3 separate regions of the Homo sapiens genome follow, and all the other regions are linked to region 3. Evidence: promoter capture Hi-C in 16 types of primary human blood cells and fetal thymus (Javierre and others, 2016). All regions are on one chromosome and are shown on one strand. Each heading gives the region's core, a stretch centred on a gene start or on the middle of the fragment in contact. The rest is flanking DNA. Distances are from core to core; before and after follow the strand shown. Region 1 overlaps FOXK2 (forkhead box K2). Region 2 has its middle 12 kb from the start of TEX19. Region 3 holds the start of DUS1L (dihydrouridine synthase 1 like).

What was found. The method cuts DNA at HindIII sites, captures the fragments that hold promoters and counts their contacts. A CHiCAGO score of 5 or more calls a contact.
Region 1: a contact is called between a fragment that was not itself captured here and the fragment with the promoter of DUS1L in region 3, in 1 of 17 cell types (non-activated CD4 T cells). The highest score is 6.1, in non-activated CD4 T cells.
Region 2: a fragment that was not itself captured here is called in contact with the fragment with the promoter of DUS1L in region 3 in 1 of 17 cell types (activated CD4 T cells); the score reaches 5.5 in activated CD4 T cells.

The regions. Positions count from the first base shown.
Region 1 is chr17:82,546,594-82,550,518 of GRCh38, reverse strand. All of the region lies in intron 1 of FOXK2 (forkhead box K2), which reads right to left. Among named protein-coding and RNA genes, the nearest start is that of FOXK2, 29 kb to the right of the region's middle. The HindIII fragment of the contact is 1,030 bases long and covers 2,016-3,045 here.
Region 2 is chr17:82,345,718-82,349,506 of GRCh38, reverse strand. No RefSeq gene overlaps it. Among named protein-coding and RNA genes, the nearest start is that of TEX19, 12 kb to the left of the region's middle. The HindIII fragment of the contact is 4,241 bases long and covers 75-3,789 here.
Region 3 is chr17:82,063,578-82,067,576 of GRCh38, reverse strand. DUS1L (dihydrouridine synthase 1 like) reads left to right here and starts at 1,773. Exons shown (of 14, transcript NM_022156.5): 1 at 1,773-1,964; 2 at 2,508-2,754; 3 at 3,343-3,451. The coding sequence starts at 2,518. RefSeq lists silencers at 1,702-1,761, 1,772-1,841, 2,132-2,181 and an enhancer at 2,405-3,133. The HindIII fragment of the contact is 12,631 bases long and covers 1-3,999 here.

The DNA of each region.
Region 1 (3,925 bases), core at 1,281-3,780, 480 kb before region 3:
AAAAAAAAAAAAAAAAGCCCGCCTCAGAAGGGCCAGGCATGGAGTTTAATGCCTTACTGCCAACATCTTGAAATCCCTAATCATTTATCTTTAAATTGGTGTTCTGTAGTGAAGTTCAATGGGACACAGCCCATCTTGCTCCTGCACCCCCTTCTTCCCCCACAACTGTCCAATGTCCCTGGTGGGGTGTGAACAGGGGTGCCTTGCTTCAGACACGTATTCCTGGGAAAGCTTGAAGTCAAGTGGCAAATTAAAAACACTATGGCAGGCCAGGAATCCACAGAAGACATAAAGAAGCTCTTTGTGTGTGTGTGTGTGTGTTTGTTTAGAGACAAGGTCTTGCAGTGTCGCCCAGGCTGGAAGGCAGTGGCACAATCATGGCTCACTGCAAGCCCAGGCTGAAGCAATCCTCCCGCCTCAGCCTCCTGAATAGCTGGGACTACAGGCACGTACCACCACACCTGCCTGTTTTGTTTTTGTAGAGATGGGGGTCTCACTGTATTTCTGAAGCTGGTCTCAAATTCCTGGGCTCAAGTGATGCACCCACCTCAATCTCCCAAAGTGCTGGCATTACAGGCATGAGCCACTGGGCCCGGCCTTTTCCTGCTTTCTCAACTACAGGTCCCATGTTTTCATTCTGCACTGGACCCCACATGTTATGAAGCTGGCTCTATATTCTAAGGTATAAATATTAGGAAATGGCGGATGTCCTCAGGCAGATCCGCTTCTGTAGGCACATATCAGGGAGGCTCGATTCCAGAAACATTCATAACCAGGAGGCTAGTGTTAGGTGTTCCAACAACGCATGTGATGAGCAGCTCTGTAAGTGGCTATCGAGCATCCAGAGTTTTCCTTTGGCTTGGAGAGTAATTTGGGGGGTTTTGGCCCCCATCTCCCATTTGCTGCACTGCAACTGTAATAAGGAGAGTAATTTGGGGGGTTTTGCCCCCCATCTCCCATTTGCTGCACTGCAACTGTAATAAGGAGAATAATTTTGGGGTTTTGGCCCCCCTCTCCCATTTGCTGCACTGTAACTGTAATAAGGAGAATAATTTTGGGGGTTTTGGCCCCTCTCCCATTTGCTGTACTGTAACTGTAATAAGGAGAATAATTTTGGGGGTTTGGCCCCCCTCTCCCATTTGCTGTACTGTAACTGTAATAAGGAGAATAATTTTGGGGGTTTTGGCCCCTCTCCCATTTGCTGCACTGTAACTGTGATAAGGAAGTTGCTGGACAGGGCTGCCAGGTCTGCAGTTCGGTGTGGCAACTTGGTGTTGGGGTAAAGGCTGGCTCAGGAGCACACACCCTCACACTTAAGATCCTCACACTCGGAGCTACAGGCAAGGGCCACACCCAGAAGAGGAGGGAGGTGGACTTCAAGTGGCCTCGTAAAACAAAGACACATTCTCCTATAATGTTCAGTCATTCGGGATGTGTTTTAGACTAAGGAAGATTTCCACTCCAGGTCCTGCCAGAGGCTGCTGTGAGAAACTATCACGCTGGTCCTCTCATCTGGATCACCAGACAACAGCTGGGGATCTTAGTGCAGATGGCAGGGTCAGGCTCTCTGGAGGTCTCACGGGTGGTGGCAGTGGAAAGTGCACAGCCCTCCTGTGCCGATGCATCGAGACGCAACCGCTCCTCGGAGGTGAGAATGCTCTTGAGATCATTCTACCCCACACCCGCCCAAATGACATTCACGTAAAACCAAAAAGGGCTCTCTGCCAAACACCCATGCCTCCCCCAGGGTGAGGTCACGGGAGAGGCTGTGGGACAGCGCCTGGGTCCTTTCCTTCCTCTATTCAGTCCACAGCAATTCCTTCTGCTAATTCAGCTGAGCAGTAGCCTCCAAATGCTTTTGACTGTACACCTCTAAGTGAAAAATTAAGTAGAAATCAATATTTGAATATATGAAATACAGTATCAACAAACAGGGCAAAGGATGGAATGGGAGAAAATATTCACAATACACCTATCTCACAAAGGACTTCTGTTCAGGGTATATAAACAAAGCTTAATATTCAGTAAGAAGGTAAACAACCCATTAAAAATGGTCATTCACTACAGATGACATAGAAATGGCCAAAAGCACATGTAGAGATGCTCAACAGCAAGGCAAATTAAACCACGGTTGATGTAAATGATCCAAAGTATTAAAAAAAAATACACATACTGACATACCACTACACACCCAGATAATGGCTAATATAAGAAGACTGACAAAACCAAGTGCTGACAAGGATATGGAGCAACTAGCTGTCACATACTGCCAGCAAGAATACAAACTGGTGCAACTGCTCTGGAAAAGTGGGTCAGCTTTTCTGTGAAATAAATGCACACTGACCACCTGGCCCCACCACTCGTACTTGTAGTTATCTGCCAAGAGAAGTGAGAGCACCAGTTCACACAAATGTGACTCCTACACAGACGTTCACAGCAGCGTGATGCACAGCAGCCCAGACTGGACACTGTCTAGACAGTCAGCCGTAGGTGAATGGATCCACAAATGGGGGTACATCCATAGAAGAGAATCCACTCAGCTGCCGCCCAGCAATCGCAAAGGAAAACTGCCCACACAAGTAACACTGATGAACCTCAAATATACCATGTGAATAAGAGCGAGCCAAACACCAGTATATTCTACATGATTCCATGTTTATGAAACCCTGGAAGAAAACACTTCTACGGGAGGGGAGGCACAGAGTTGAGTGTCTGGGACTCTCCAGGGGGATGAGGCTGACTGCCAAGGGGCAAGAGGAAGGTTTGGGGTGAGGGGTAATATCTGGATCTATTATTTTGATTGTGATTTCGGCTACATGGTGTATACAGCTGTCAAAACTCTTTGAAAGGTACCCTTAAGTTTGTTTTATGTGAAATATTCCTCAAAAAAAAGTTTAAAGTAAAAATAAGCTGGCAACAATATATTAATATATGTATAAATTATATTACAGTATTGCACACTGTAAAACAGAAAAATAGCAACTAAGCAGGATGAAAAAAATAACCAGAAGTATTATTTTTCTTCCTAAACTCTTAAAACAAGCTTGTCCAACCCACGGCCCGTGGGCTGCATGCAGCCCAGGATGGCTTTGAATGTGGCCCAATACAAATTCATAAACTTTCTTAAAACATTATGATTTTTGTGATTTTTTCAGCTTACCAGCTCTTGTTAGTGTAGACAATACTTTTTCCAATGTGGCCCAGGAAAGCCTAAAGACTGGACACCCTGAATGTAAAGTATCACCTTGATCACTTCCGGGGAACCACAATGGAGAACCACAATACTACAATGTGAACCACAATACTACACCCTGAATATTCTAAACACAGGGAGTATGATGCTTAAGGTTGTAGCTTTAAAATCAGTAGTAATAGACAGTATACACTATAAGAGAGATCAGTGTATTCTTTCTTTCTTTCTCCTTCCTTTTTTTTTTTTTTTGATGGAGTTTTTGCTCCTGTCGCCCAGGTTGGAGTGCAGTGGTGCCATCTCGGCTCACTGTGACCTCCACCTCCCGGGTTCAAGTGATTCTCCCACCTCAGCCTCCAGAGTAGCTGGGACTACAGGCACCCACCACCACGCCCGACTAATTTTGGTATTTTTAGTAGAGACGGGGTTTCACCATGTTGGGCGGGATGGTCTCAATCCCCTGACCTCAGGTGATCCATCTGCCTCGGCCTCCCAAAGTGCTGGGATTCCAGGTGTGAGCCACCGCACCCGGCCTGAGTTCTTTATTTAAAAGCGAGTTTTAGGTTGGGCTCAGTGGCTTACACCTATTATCCCTGAACTTGGGAGTCTGAGGTGGGAGGAACACTTGAGCCCAGGAGTTCAAGACCAGCCTGGGCAACATGGTGAGACCCCCGTCACCGTTTAAAAAAAAGGAAAAGAAAAGCGAGGTGTTACCTCTGTTTGACACTGGGACGC
Region 2 (3,789 bases), core at 946-3,445, 280 kb before region 3:
GGCAGTGAGTGAACAGATTACTGTCCCAGTCTCCACCTTTGTGTTTATGTTTGTACTTTTCCATGATAAAAGCTTTGTTCTGAACATCGGCCTCCCCCGGGCTGTGCAGAGCTCCACGGCCCCGGCTACCCCAGTGGCTCCAGTGGCCGACAGGGTTGATTCTACTCACCTGAGCAGGTGAGCCTCCCCAGAGTCACCTGGCATCGCTCTGGTGGGTTTGAAGGAGAGGTCAGGATCCCAGGACATGCACGCGCGGGTGGCAGTGACCCTACCAGAGCTGGGGTCACGGGGGGAACTGAGGCACCCCCCACAGACATTTTTAAATTCTAAAATCAGATGCTTTTGTTTAGTTGTTCAGAGTGAGGCTTCTATGCCCCTGCATGTGCGTCTCCAGTTTGGAACTTATGCTCCTCTAGGAGTTCCCGAGGCTCTGCGTAGAGATCAGTGGAAGAATTGGCTCAGATCAGCCTCAAGTCCTGAGGAGCAATCGTATTTCAGGGACGGCTGGCTTATTTCATTTATTATAATTCTCCTATTTACTATTCAATTCCAACACAGCAGGTTTCCAAATGTGAGAGGGAAACATTTACGTCGTGGGGACTGTGGCTGTAAATTCCCACTATGGCAGGTTTCTCTTTGACAAATAAAAGCGTTGGTTGAATTATTGACAAGGAAGATAGATTTAGAAATGTGTGTCAGACGTGGGGCTGGGTGAGTTTGTGAAGGAGAGAGAGGTGAAGGAAAGCTATGAGGCGAGCAGGGCAGGGTGGCAGCCGGCCAGCCCAGGGGGTCTCGTGGAAAGCTATGAGGCGAGGAGCAGGGCAGGGTGGCAGCCGGCCAGCCCAGGGGGTTTCGTGGGTGTTTATGCTGGGACCTTGGCCCAGGACCCCACCTGGCAGCCTCTCCTTCCCAGCAGGGCCAGCCCCCTGCAGCCCCAGGCCCTGGGGGGCAGTCTTGGAGGGGCTCTGGCTCTGATGTCTTCCCTCCCTCCAACGCTGGTCCCAGCACTCAAATAGAAACTCAAATCCTATTTTCTGCGGGTAGAGATAGGATGACAAGAGGCCTCCCTTCTAGAAAGGAAAATGAGAGATCAGAAAAATCAGAAAAACCAGAAGGCATTGGCTGGGTGCAGTGGCTCACGCCTGTAATCCCAGAACTTTGGGAGGCCGAGGTGTGGGGATCACCTGAGGTCAAGAGTTCAAGATCAGCCTGGCCAACACGGTGAAACCTCGTCCCTACTAAAATACAAAAATTAGGCGGGCGTGGTGGCAGGCACCTGTAATCCCAGCTACTCAGGAGGCTGAGTCAGGAGAATCACTTGAGCCTGGGAGGCGGAGGTTGCAGTGAGCCAAGAACGCACCATTGCACTCCAGCCTGGGTGACAAGAGCAAAACCCTGTCTCAAAAGACAAGACAAGAAAATCAGAAGGTCTTAGCTCTGGTGGAAGAGCCCGGAGAGAGGGCGTTCAGGCTGGGACCCCCTCAGTCTCTCTGTCTCCAGAGGGGGGCGTTCAGGCTGGGACCCCTCAGTCTCTCTGTCTCCAGAGAGGGGGCGTTCAGGCTGGGACCCCCTCAGTCTGTCTCCAGAGAGGGGGCGTTCAGGCTGGGACCCCCTCAGCCTGTCTCCAGAGGGGGGCGTTCAGGCTGGGACCCCTCTGTCTCTCTGTCTCCAGAGAGGGGGCGTTCAGGCTGGGACCCCCTCAGTCTCTCTGTCTCCAGAGAGGGGGCGTTCAGGCTGGGACCCCCTCAGTCTCTCTGTCTCCAGAGAGGGGGCGTTCAGGCTGGGACCCCCTCAGCCTGTCTCCAGAGGGGGGCGTTCAGGCTGGGACCCCTCTGTCTCTCTGTCTCCAGAGAGGGGGCGTTCAGGCTGGGACCCCCTCAGTCTGTCTCCAGAGAGGGGGCGTTCAGGCTGGGACCCCCTCAGTCTGTCTCCAGAGAGGGGGCGTTCAGGCTGGGACCCCTCAGTCTCTCTGTCTCCAGAGAGGGGGCGTTCAGGCTGGGACCCCCTCAGTCTCTCTGTCTCCAGAGAGGGGGCGTTCAGGCTGGGACCCCCTCAGCCTGTCTCCAGAGGGGGGCGTTCAGGCTGGGACCCCCTCAGTCTGTCTCCAGAGAGGGGGCGTTCAGGCTGGGACCCCTCTGTCTCTCTGTCTCCAGAGAGGGGGCGTTCAGGCTGGGACCCCCTCAGTCTGTCTCCAGAGAGGGGGCGTTCAGGCTGGGACCCCCTCAGTCTGTCTCCAGAGAGGGGGCGTTCAGGCTGGGACCCCCTCAGTCTCTCTGTCTCCAGAGGGGGGTGTTCAGGCTGGGACCCTTCTGTCTCTCTGTCTCCAGAGAGAGGGCGTTCTGCTGTATAAACAGGAAGCCCCGGGTGCCTGAGGATCCTTGGCACAAGCAGGGCGGGGACCGGGTCGGGGTCGCCCACATGGGCACTATCCCGAAATCTTGTGCCATCTCTTGTATTTAAAAGCAGAGTGGTTCTTCCCCCCACACTGTGGCGGCTAGCTAATTTTTTTAAGTTTTGAGTTTTTAAACCCGAACCTGCCGCTGAGCAGTTTGCAGCTTCACACTCGCGTGTGCAAGAAACAGCTTCCTGACTTCCCCCTCGGAGCCCTCCTGGGGAGGGGAAGCCGCTCCTTGGCTGCTGCGCCCTCAGACACACGCTCCCTTGTGTCAGGTGTGTCAGGCCTCTGAGCCGAAGCTCAGCCATTGTAACCCCTGTGACCTGCACATGTATGTCCAGATGGCCTGCAAGAGCCAAGAAGTCTGGGGCAACCCAAATCTACAAAAGAATGAAACAGCCAGCTCCTGTCTTAACTGATTGACCAACCTTACGACATTCCATGATGACCTGTTCCTGCCCTGTCCCACCTGATCGATCGACCTCGTGACATTCTTCTTCCGGACAATGAGTCTTATGATCTCCCCACCATGTACCTTGTGACCCCCTCCTCTGCTGACAATAGGTAACCACCTTTCACTGTAACTTTCCACTGTTTACCCCAGTCCTATAAAACGGCCCCACCCCTACCTCTCTTTGCTGACTCTTTTCGGACTCAGCCCACTTGCACCCAAGTGAATAAACAGCCTTGTTGCTCACACAAAGCCTGTTGGTGTCTCTTCACATGGACGCACGTGACACAAAGTGCTGGGGTTACAGGCGTGAGCTGCCACGCCCGGCCCTCTTTGCTCTTTCGTACGAATTTTATTTTTTATTTTTATTTTTTTTCTTGAGACAGAGTCTTGCTCTGTCGCCCAGGCTGGAGTGCAGTGGCGCGATCTCGGCTCACTGCAAGCTCCGCCTCCCGGGTTCACGCCAGTCTCCTGCCTCAGTTACCTGAGTAGCTGGGACTACAGGCGCCCGTCACCACACCTGGCTAATTTTTTGTATTTTTTTAGTGGAGACGGGGTTTCACCGTGTTAGCCAGGATGGTCTTGATCTCCTGACCTCGTGATCCGCCCGCCTCGGCCTCCCACAGTGCTGGGATTTACAGGCGGGAGCCACCACACCGGCCTTCGTATGAATTTTAGAACCAGTTTTTCCAATTTCATGAAAAATTATCTTAGGAATTATATTAATTTCGGGAAAACAGTTATCTTTGGGTCCCACGTAAACACAGGGAGTGGGAAACAGTCGTGTGGCATCTGTGGCACAGAACACAGAGACCAGGCCCCGGCGGCTCTGCCAAGCGAGGCTTCGTCCCGGAGACTCGGCGTGTGGCCTCCGGGTCACAGAAACGGCCTTCGTAGCTGTTTGATGTCACACCAACGAGACTTCATTCGTGTTAGCAGAACT
Region 3 (3,999 bases), core at 524-3,023:
CCCTCGCCTGTCTTTCCTTAGTGTGCACCCAACCTTGCAGTCCACCAGGGACATCTGGCCACCTCTGAAGACCACCAAGGCTGTTCTATCTGTGAATGCAGAAAATCTGAGACAGGTCTCAGTTAATTTAGAAGGTTTATTTTGCCAAGGTTGAGGACATGCCCATGGCACAGCCTCAGGAGGTCCTGACAACATGTGCCTGAGGTGGTTGGGGCACAGCTTGGTTTTATACATTTTAGGGAGACATGAGACATCAATCAATATATGTAAGATGAACATAGCGGCTAGCTGCGGTGGCTCACGCCTGTAATCCCAGCACTTTGGGAGGCCAGCGGATCACCTGATGTCAGGAGTTCGAGACCAGCCTGGCCAACATGGTGAAACCCCCATCTCTACTAAAAATACTAAAATTAGCTGGGTGTGTTGGTGGGTGCCTGTAATCCCAGTTATTTGGGAAGCTGAGGGAGGAGAATCGCTTGAACCTGGGAGATGGAGGTTGCAGTGAGCCGAGATCACGCCACCGCACTCCAGCCTGGGTCAGAAAGCGACTCCGTCTCAAAAAAAAAAATTGGTTCAGTCTGGAAAGGCGGGACAATTTAAAGCAAAAGCCATCGGGGAGGGAGCTTCCTGGTCACAGATAGGTGATACACAAACGGTTACATTGTTTTGAGTTTCTGATTAGCCTTTTTTTTTTTTCTTTTCCTTTTTGATCAGTCTTGCTCTGTCGCCAGGCTGGAGTACAATGGCTTGATCTCGGCTCACTGCAACCTCCGCCTCCCAGGTTCAAGCGATTCTCCTGCCTCAGCCTCCCGAGTAGCTGGGACTACAGGGGCGCACCACCACACCTGGCTAATTTTGTATTTTCAGTAGAGACAGGGTTTCACCGTGTTGGCCAGGCTGGTCTCGAACTCCTGGTCTCAATGTGCGCCACCGCGCCCAGCCTTCTGATGAGCCTTTTCAAAGGAGTCAGTCAGATATCCATCTATCTCAGCGAGCAGAGGGTGACTCTGAATAGAGCGGGAGGCAGGTTTGCCCTGAGCAGCTTCCAGCCTGAGTTTTCCTTAGTGATTCCGGGGGCCCAAGAGATTTCACATGTTTTAGGTACTGAATGTCCTGGTTCAACTTCGGGCTTCGCTCTCAGATATGGAAAGCTCTGACAAAGCTGCTTTTTACATCTGTTGGGTCTCAAATGCCTTCAGTTTAAAATAACCTTCACATCCACTCTGGGGTTCCCAGTGGGTCCCCACAGCTCGAAATAACCCAAGGAGGGTCCACGGCGGGTAGGAAAGTCGATCGAAGGCTGGCGGCTGCGGAAACCCAGGGCGGGCAAGGAAGGTCCCTGGAGGGTGATTTTCCGCAACGCAGCGGCGGAAAGTGAGTGGCTTTCAGAGGCGGCAGGTGAGTGGGTTCGAGGCAGGGCTCTGGGGCCGCTTTAGGATATAACGGGATGAAGCCCCCAATGCGAACTTGGGGGCTGGGCAGCGCAGGGCCTCAGCGCCCACGGTCTACCCGCGGCCCGGGCCTTATGTGCGCCTCAGCGAGGCCCAATTTCCACATGCCTCGTTTCCAGCGAGCTGTCGGTGAGTCCCGGCGAGCCCCGACCCCTCTCTAGCCACGGCCTGACGGGTACGGTGGTGACCTCAGCCTCTGACCTCCGACCCCGCGCCGCGACCTCTCGTCGCCGGTCCCCTCGGAGCCGGGCGCGGTTTCCGGGGAACGCGTTTCCCGCCGCACCGTGGGCCGCCCGGACCGCGCAGGACCGGGCACCTTCCGGTGGCGGCGCGGAGCCTTGGGCCCGGCTGCGGCCCGGCGGCGGCCCCGGCGCGGTGCGGGCGTTCGCGGCGCCCCGGGAGCTGCAGGGGCCCCGGGCGGCGGCGAGGCCGGAGAGGGGCGGGCCCGGGACACCGGCACCCGGCGCCCTCGGAGCCAAAGGCGCGCGGCGGACACGGCGGGGCCCTCGCGCGGTGAGGACGCGGAGGCGTGTGGGCTCCTGTCACTTCACACAGCAAACGCTGCCCGCCGCGTGGCTCCGGAGGAGTCTCGCGAGGGGCGCCCCTGTGGCGTTTCGGGCCAGCCGGGCCGCCTGGCCGGGTGCGGAGAAGGAAGCTCTGCCCTTCCCCTGGCCCGGCGCGGAGCCGATTCTCCCGGGAAGGGGCCGGGGGTCCTAACTTCACCGCCGGGCGGCCTGCTCAGGGCCAGGCCCGCGGGGACGCTGGCGTCAAGGTTTCTTCCCCCTTCACGCCAGTCCCCTACCAGGCCGACATCGAGTCCCGCTCCCCAGGGAGGGTCAAGTCCCAGGGGTCCAGCGGCTCCCCCGAGGTCCGCTAGGAGGTGGCGGCACTGGAGTGGCCGTTCTCCAGCCTGCACCGACCCCCGCCTTTAGTGCCCCCGCGTGTGACCCAACGGTGGTACTGGAGCGGCCTTAGAAGGGTGACCGCTGCCTCTGAGTTGAGTCTTAAGCCCCTCGTTGGGCCTGGCTGAACCCCGGGTCTGCGCCTTTCCCCCAGCCTGGAGACGATGCCAAAGCTGCAGGGCTTCGAGTTCTGGAGCCGCACCCTGCGAGGGGCCCGCCACGTCGTGGCCCCCATGGTGGACCAGAGCGAGCTGGCCTGGAGGCTGCTGAGCCGGCGCCACGGGGCACAGCTCTGCTACACGCCCATGCTGCATGCCCAGGTCTTTGTCCGCGACGCCAACTACCGGAAGGAGAACCTGTACTGCGAGGTGTGCCCCGAGGACCGGCCCCTCATCGTGCAGGTGCGCAGGAGGGGCTGTGGCCGCGGCCGCGGTTGGGTTCCCGGTCCTGGAATGCCTGGGGAAAAACCCTTCTCTCTGTGGCGGGACATCACTTTCAGCCTTTCCAGAGACAGCTCAATTCCAGGAGGAGAGGGAGAAGGTGGCACCAGGCATGTAGAGTCCACGTAGCCACAGCAGTGATTCCTGTGGTGGAGCCAGGGCTGCCAGGTGCACCTGCCAGAATCCAACCCCATTCTCTAGGAGTGGCTCAGGCAGCCTGGGTGCTGTGAGGTTTGCAGCCCTGCTGGGGCCTCTGGATTGCTGCCTCTCACACTCACACTCCCTCTTCAGAACCAGTGGAGATGGCTCTGCTCTTCAGAAGTCAGTGATTGTGGCTTCTGCCACAGTTCAGAAGAAAATCTGTAAATCCGGGTGGCTTGGGGACTCCTCCCGGCTTTGTCATATTGTAAGCCTCCGCAGGACAGAGCACCCTCCTGCAGTGAACCTGGGCCCACACCCTCATGGGGTCACACTGGACCTCTCGTAGGGCTGGGCAGCAAGGGACTAGGGCCTGGCTGGGCCCGTGGCTGACTCCTGCATCTTCTCCAGTTCTGTGCCAATGACCCGGAGGTGTTTGTTCAGGCGGCTCTCCTGGCTCAGGATTACTGTGACGCCATTGACCTGAACTTGGGCTGCCCACAGATGATAGCCAAGAGAGGTGAGCTCCATGTGGAGCATGGGGGCACCTGGGGCAGGGGCCAGAGCCAGCTCAGTGCAGCCCCAGGTGTGGTGAGCTTGGAGGACGGCAGGCCCTGCCTCTGTCGTGACAGTGGCTCAGGCTGGAGCCAGCTGTCCTCTGTGCTCCGCCTCTGGAGGGTGGCTGTCCTCAGGCCTTGGGGGCTAGGGGCCGAGCCCTACTGGCTCTCTCTTCCCTCAGGGAGCTCCCTCTGCATAAACATGATTGCTGATACAGGGTCCCCATTACCCCCTTGCACTGCTGTGTGTGGGGCTGAGCCTGCTACCTCACCGGGCCCCTGAGGAGGTGTTACTTGGTTCCAGACCGTGCAGGGTGGGGGTTCCATTCAGCACCTTCTGAGCTTAGGCAGCTGGGCAAATAGAGCCCCTGAGTCTGATGCCGACAAACCACTGCTCTGACTGTCCCACTGCCCCAACTGGAGACACTGCTGGTTCTGGGGACCTGTGTCCCGCCTGACAGGGCAGCTCCTGGCCTGCGTGGATGCAGGAAAGGGTGCAGAGGGGGTGCAA